Linked DNA regions of Homo sapiens: region 2 is linked to region 1. Evidence: promoter capture Hi-C in 16 types of primary human blood cells and fetal thymus (Javierre and others, 2016). All regions are on one chromosome and are shown on one strand. Each heading gives the region's core, a stretch centred on a gene start or on the middle of the fragment in contact. The rest is flanking DNA. Distances are from core to core; before and after follow the strand shown.

The links. Contacts are between HindIII fragments. The CHiCAGO score rates a contact against its expected background, and 5 or more counts as called.
Region 2: a fragment that was not itself captured here is called in contact with the fragment with the promoter of KRT33A in region 1 in 1 of 17 cell types (naive CD4 T cells); the score reaches 5.2 in naive CD4 T cells.

The regions. Positions count from the first base shown.
Region 1 is chr17:41,348,827-41,352,624 of GRCh38, reverse strand. KRT33A (keratin 33A) reads left to right here and starts at 1,797. Exons shown (of 7, transcript NM_004138.4): 1 at 1,797-2,205; 2 at 3,197-3,279. The coding sequence starts at 1,858. It overlaps LOC105371778 (a long non-coding RNA gene), which reads right to left and starts at 1,128. Exons shown (of 2, transcript XR_001753056.1): 1 at 1,022-1,128; 2 at 1-203. The HindIII fragment of the contact is 4,412 bases long and covers 383-3,798 here.
Region 2 is chr17:41,534,238-41,537,876 of GRCh38, reverse strand. No RefSeq gene overlaps it. Among named protein-coding and RNA genes, the nearest start is that of KRT19, 7.7 kb to the right of the region's middle. The HindIII fragment of the contact is 2,229 bases long and covers 1,091-3,319 here.

The DNA.
Region 1 (3,798 bases), core at 548-3,047:
CTCCTGATCTCTGATTGGGAAATTCTCCAAAGTTTGGTCCTCAGCTCCTTGTTGCTCTTCTCTTTGTACTCTCCCTTGGCCCAGTTCTCTAACTCTCTCACTTGTACTAAACCTTATCTGTATCATCATCCCTGCCATAAATTCTAGTCTTGCATGGACTGTTGCAATAGTCTCTTTGCTGAACTCTTTGCCTCCAATCTTTCCTTCATTTTTCAAAAACAGATAAATATTTGCTAAAACATTTCCTAAAACACCTTTTGTCACACCACACTTAGGTTCAAAAGCTTATACTGGCTCTACAGCTTCTGGGGAAGTCCAAGCTGCTCCACTTCACCATCGAGACCCCCTACCATAGGGTCCCCATACAATCCCCCATAAAGCTTTAATTTCTAGCACTTCCCTTCACAACTCTCCCCTTCCTGCTGCCTAGACTTACCCTGGTCCTTCAACCATGCCTTGGGCTTTCCCACCCCATTCCTGTGTGCACATTATTCTCCTCACCTGCACTTCCTACTTTTCTCCCCTCTGCTTCTTAGAAGCCTCCCTATCCCAGCACAAATCCATTCATCCATTCCTAAGAGCCTCCAATCCTGGAGCTGCTCGCCCTCCCCAGTGTGTAAACCACTCAGTTATCACTTGTCAACTTCTGCCTCAGATTATTATTTCCTGTTCATCCCTTCATCACTCTACCCACACCCATTCAACAGTGCCTACCAGGTGCCTAGAGCTGGGGATTCAAAGACAAACTAGACCCTGCCCTTGCCTTCAGGGACCTCAAATAGAGACAGAGAGACAAGCACATAAGTCATGACAGTGTCATGCTCAAGGTAAAAAGAGAGCTTGGAGAGGAGAAAGGGACGGCCTGTCTGAAGAAGGGAAGGAAGTAAGCCATTTATATTTAAGCCAAGTGTTGTGATGAAAAGAAAAGTGATCTGCTTTGGAATCCTAGGTCCACAACTTATTATCCTCACCCTCTATGCCTTGGTGTTCTCATCTATAAAATGGGAATTATACAGTTTACCTTTAAGAGTTCTGGTGAGGAATAATGGACATCTAAGTTCTGCATGTTTGAGGATCATGTTTGTAAAAAGGATCTAGTTTGTGAAAAGTGTCCACACTACCTTGGGCTTGTGCAGTTTCTTAACAAGTAAGAACTTCTTCTGACCATAGCATTGAGTCCTATTTTCCACCCCTCCCAGTGTCTATTACATCGCCCTGGATGAAATTGTCATAGTGGATATCTATTATTTGGTTGATTGACGTCATCATGGACATGAAAAAAGCCCATCATATCAGGAAACATGGCCATCAGGAACTGTCCCAGAAAGGATCTATTCCTCTTTCTGAGAACCATGAATTTGGAATTTGGCACTTGGAAATGTGACCTAGCAAAAGACACAGGGCAAGAGCTATGCTTTTCCATTTCACCAAGGAGAGCCAGAGCTTGCCAAAGAGTTAGGGGCCTCAAGCCACAAAGCAGAACAGCAATACTGTCTCTTGACCTGCTGCACCCCACTGAAGAAGGCCAGGGCTTTCATGAGTCCAGGTCTTTGAAGTCACACCATGAAGCTCTTACATCATGACACACAGCATGGAAGAGGAGTCCCGACTTAGCGAGAAGCCCAAGTAAAGTATTTTATGAGGGGAGAGACTCTTCTGAAGAAACACAACAAATGGAGGGAAGGGCTTTTGACAATCACCAAATGAGCAAAAAAAAAAAAAAAAAAAAGGGGTTGTCTTACGTGTCCACACCCTCCATGGACGAGGTATAAATGCTCCCTGGAGGAAGGAGACCCACCGCTCTACAACCTGGAGATTTTGGACTCTGTCTTCAGCTGGACACTCCCTCCCTGCACCATGTCTTACAGTTGTGGCCTGCCCAGCCTGAGCTGCCGCACCAGCTGCTCCTCCCGGCCCTGTGTGCCCCCCAGCTGCCACGGCTGCACCCTGCCCGGGGCCTGCAACATCCCCGCCAATGTGAGCAACTGCAACTGGTTCTGTGAGGGCTCCTTCAATGGCAGTGAGAAGGAGACCATGCAGTTCCTGAACGACCGCCTGGCCAGCTACCTGGAGAAGGTGCGTCAGCTGGAGCGGGACAACGCGGAGCTGGAGAACCTCATCCGGGAGCGGTCACAGCAGCAGGAGCCCTTGGTGTGTGCCAGCTACCAGTCCTACTTCAAGACCATTGAGGAGCTCCAGCAGAAGGTGAGGAGTGGGCGACACAGTGCCTCCAGTAGGAAGTTGTCGGGAGAGAATCCGAGTTGTGATTGAGAAACAACGTAAGCTCTTGATGTGAATGAAAAGCTGAAAACTGGCCTTTCCATTTTGTTTTTTGAGGGCCCATCTAATACTAGACTTGGGACTGTTAGGTCTAAATATTTGCATAGTGTTAGTCTATGTGGAGGTAGCAGCACTTTGCATAAATGAGCTGTAATTAAAAACTACCTCTGAATGCTTCCATGCACCTGCCAAGCTCCAGAATTATTACCCTGAGGTGAGAGAAAAGGACTGAGTCCAAAGGAAGCTGGGGAAACGGAATCTTTTGTAAAGACTGGGCCATTTTCTTTCTCCCTCATCTGAGCTTTTTGCCCCTTGGACTGCTGGCTGCCTCTCTCTTCTAGGTTCCTACTTATCCTGATTTCATTGTCCTCACCTTCATGCCTCTGGGCTTCTCCTGGTGCACAGTGTCCAGTGAGAGCCTAAAATGTTTGGCCCAAATTGGGAAGATTGGAAATTACCTAGGACAAAGTAGTCCCAGTTGTCTGGGACATCTGGGAACATGTGGCTTCTTCCCTGATCCAGTCCCCTGCAATTGCTAGTTTACCTATTTGTCTTTTCTGCTTGATTGAAAGTTTCTTGAGGGCAGGATCAAGTGCTTACCAATTTTTGTATCCTCAGCTCCTAGTATCATGCCAGAAACATAGTAGGTGTTTTTCATAAATGTCAACTATTATGATCAGCTTCTCAGTATTGCTCATTAGGATAGAAAAAAGATTATCTACTTATACTTTTTGCATATTTTGGTGTTCTTTTTTTGAATATAATTTTGGAAATATTCATTGAGTACCTGCTGTATATAGAAAGCATTTAATAAGATAGACATCCTGATCCTTCCAAGGAAGTGAATTAGGAAGGACTGCCATTGGTGAAAAATTACCAAGTCCTTGCTCATTCTTGAATGTTTTGGGCCTTCTAGATCCTGTGCAGCAAGTCTGAGAATGCCAGGCTTGTGGTGCAGATCGACAATGCCAAGCTGGCCTCAGATGACTTCAGGACCAAGTGAGTGGGCAAGCGGGGTGTTGCTGTTTATTTCTCTTCTCTGGCAGCCCTCCTTTCCTTTAGCCTGTTGTCAACACAAGTTAAACAAACAGTGACTGAGCTATGTTCTAGCTGCTTTCTCCAAGATTCACAGAGCCACCACACACCGTAGCTCAGAGATCCTTTCCCCAGGCCTTAGACTTCCTTTCCTCCTTCTTCTCCTCTGTGACGTGACACCCCTAGTCGTACTGTGAGTTAGTGTAGACGTGTTGGCCCCCGATGTTCTCCTATGCACAGAACCCATTCATGAGAATGGAGAATGTGGAAGCATATTATTTTGGAAGTCTTACAGTTTGTCAGCTTTTATCCTAAATCCACTGGCTTTCTTCTTTTTTTTAGAGACAGGGCCTTGCTCTGTCACCCAGGCTGGAGGGCAGTGGTGCAATCATAGCTCAGTGTAACTTCAGATCCTCAGACTCCTGGGCTCAAGCAACCCTCTCCCCTTAGCCTCCTGAATAGCTAGGAATATAGAAGTCTATC
Region 2 (3,639 bases), core at 956-3,455, 180 kb before region 1:
TCGGGATATCCCTTGCACCAGGCCACTGTTCCTGAAGTCCTCTGATGTCTCCCCAGAACAAGCCCCCAGTGTCTCTCACCTGAACTCCATTAGAGCCTCTTATTAGATCTCCAGCTCTTTGGGCCCCACGGTCTATTCCACAGGGAGCAGCCAGGGGTGGGGAGGGCGTCCCAGTGCTCCTCTGCTCAAAGCACCATTACTCTCAAGATAAAAGCCAGCGCCTCCATTAGACCGCAGACACCGAGTGCTCTGTCCTGGCCTCCCCTGGGCTCATCTCCTGCACACTGTCATTCTGGCTCACCCCTCTTAACCACTGGGACTTCTTGGTGTTGCCTGAACAGACCAAGCTCCCTCTTCCTTAGGGATTTTGGCTTTGCTGTGCCCTTGGCTTGGAATAATCTTCCCTGGGGATCTGAGGGCTCCTTTGCCTCATTCAGGTCTCTGTTCATGTGTCACCTCCTCAGAGAGGCCTTCCCTGACCACCCCTCAATGGCCTTCCCTGCTGACCCCCTCCCTGGCTTTGCTACTCTGCCCCCTACCCCAGATGAAAGCCCCAGGAGGGCAGGCAGCTTTAGACTGCCCTGCTCTTGAAGCCCAGAGTCTAGAAGGTGCCTGGCACACAGAAGGTGGACCATAATTGGTGTTAAATGAAAAAAAATAAAAGGGCTTCAGGAGAAGGCTCTGTTCTGGCAAATAATCATTAAATGTTTACTAGTGCTGGAGTCAGCCCTGGGGCTAGATACAGAAGCTCCAAGTCTAGATGGGGAGACAGAGCTGTGGTAAGTGCTGGGCAAGTGGGTGGGGGTGGGAATGCTGACCCAGCCTGAGCGGGTCAGGGTGGACATATCAGGGAGAAGAAACCCATGCCAATGGAACTGAGAGGAGCTGGCATGGCTGCCATCCAGGTAAAGGGAGGGGGCAGGTAGGCAGGGAGGATGCTCTGGCCAACGCCGGGTGGAGGTGGCCTCCAGCATACAGCGGGTGTTCAGTGAAAATGCTTGCAGTGTCCAAGACCCCTGCATCCGAGGAGGACAATTTGAGTTTCTGGACGGGAACCTTCCCAGGTGAGGGGGAGTACAGAGCTGAAGCTTCCCCTCAGGAGTCGTGGGATCAGATGGGTTTTGAAAGGAAAGATTTTGCCTGTGGAGGGGTCTTGCTCATCTGGGACTGCCCAGAGTCTGTTCTTGAAGGAGGCAGCATCGCCACCACAGCCCACCAGGATCCTGATGGGAGGGAAGTTTGTCAGCCAGAAGGCAGCAGGGAAGCACCCAGGTGCCCTCTCCTGGGTGCTGGGAATCCGGGCAGGCACCCGGACATTTTCTTTCTCTCTGTCCTGTGTCTGGCACTCTCCTTGCCCCAGTCCAGATGGAATGGGCCACAGCTTGAAGTGGGGCAGAGGCGTCAAATGAGGCCCAAATTGAGTAGGGCAGGACAAAAGCTGAGAGAGACACCCCTGGCTAAGATCGGTGGGGGGGCCTCCCTGTGTGGAGTGAGCGTGAGCCTGCTCACGTACTCACCTCCAGGGAGAGGGAGTGAGGAGGAGGCAGGCCCCTGTCTTCCCAGGCTGTGGAATGTGGCACCTCGGGGAAGCTGGCCCCTGGACCTGGGACTATTCCTTGCAGGACTCAGCTGTCCCTCCCCACCCACACCATCTGCCCTGGTTCTGGTCGGGCTGGTTTTTCCTCCCCTGAGGACTTGGAGAGGAACACCAGGGGCCATCCTGACCTAGCTTACTTGCCCTGCCCTCCCCCTTTCCTGGGTTTCCACGTCTCAGGAAGCCATTGAGATGCAGCAGAAATGGCCAGACCTGGGCTGTGCGGAGGCTCAAGTCCCGAGAGCATCAGCCTCCTGACCCGAGTGCGGCTTTGGGCTGCTCATGACATGGCCGGCGCTGCCCTGTCCTGGCTGCTGGGCCCTTCAAGACAGTGAATAGGATTCTTCCCCATCTGGGCAAGAGCAAGGCTCCCCAAGAGACGGCATGGGTCCCAGGGCTGGGGGATGGTAGTGGCAGGGATCTTGCTCAGCTGAGACCGTCCAGGACTTGGCCAGCATCTCTGGCACACAGCAGTGCTTTGTGCAGGGTCCCTCTCTTTCATCACTCCCATTTGTCATCAGGTCATAACAGCAGGTCTTGTCTCTGTCCTTTACTCTCTAGCCCACCACTATGGCTAGATTCAGACCCTCTCATCTCTAGCATGGACTATTTTAAAACACCCTAAACTGGGTTCTTTATCCCTGGTCATCCCTGCTTCCCTTGACACATCAACCCATTTGCCACACAAAACCCACATCCCATCCCTGATGAAAATGACTTTCCATTGTCTTGCTTACAGCTCCCCCACAGCTGACCTTGTCCTCAACGACCCCCTTCCCTCCCCTCCTGCCATGGCCCAACCATATTGAATTGCCAGTAGTCTCCCAAGCTGGGCCCGGTTACTCATCTCTTCCAGGCCCCCATTCTCTTTACTCTTCTGCCTGAGAAATACCTACTGGTCTGTCAGCTTCTTGCTCAAGGGTCATGCCTCTGTAATTAAATAGCTCTCAATGCCCCCAGGCAGACATAATTCCCAGTGTCTACATACTTGATCACATTGATTGGTTTGAGGCATACCTCAATACTGGGTCAATAGCTCTAGCCTGATGGCCCACATGGTGGCTCCCACTCCAGCACCCCCTAAAGATCTTCCAGTTATTTCAGAAAGTCCCCAGGGGAATGCCTCGCATGTGCCCACAAGGTGGCTGCTGTCTTGCATAGAATACCCTCTGCTCTGCCACCAGCTGTAGCCCCACAGATCCACGCCACCACCTGGGAGAGCCTTGTTGTCTGTTGTGAGAACACCCAGGGGGGCCAACTTCAGATGCTTCCAGACGATGGATCCTTGGAGAACCAGAGTGGGAGGGCTTTCCTCAGGTGTAAGTCATCGGCTGCAAGGAGCTCTCCCTGTACTCAGACTCTTCCAAAGTTCTTCTTGTCCGTTTTGCCTTCTTGTTTCATAAAGAAGTAAAACTAGCCTGGCGGACCCAGGGGTGGGGGCACGAGGATGGAAACCCTTTCCAGGGTCTCTTTTCTCCTCACATCTAGTTCTCCCTCTTCCAAAACTTCCTCTCTCATTTCTCAATTCAAGGCTAGGGTTGGTGTGGATGAGCAGAGACAATGATGTCAGTGGTGAGTGCAGGGAGGGGAAGAGGGTATTGACTATATGAAATTTGGCTAGTTCTAAATGTCTGTGGTTTAGTGTTACTTAAGAAATTATTTACTTTAATTAACAAGAAATACTAAATACATTCTTATAAAACTTAAAACCATAGAGATTAAGCTTAGGTTCCTATTGGCTACCATCCTTCAATCAGATTCCTTCCTTACCTATGCATATATTCATACATATTCATATGGACCTTAGCAATAAGTCATCTTTTGAATGTATGTTGACATGAATTTATCATATTAAGTGTGTTGCTCTCCAACTAGATTTACTGTACCCAACAACTAGTTTTTTTTTTTTTTTCTTTTGAGATGGAGTTTCACTCTTGTCACCCAGGCTGGAGTGTAATGGCTCGATCTCAGCTCACTGCAAGCTCTGCCTCCCGGGTTCAAGCAATTCTCCTGCCTTAGCCTCCCGAGTAGCTGAGATTACAGGC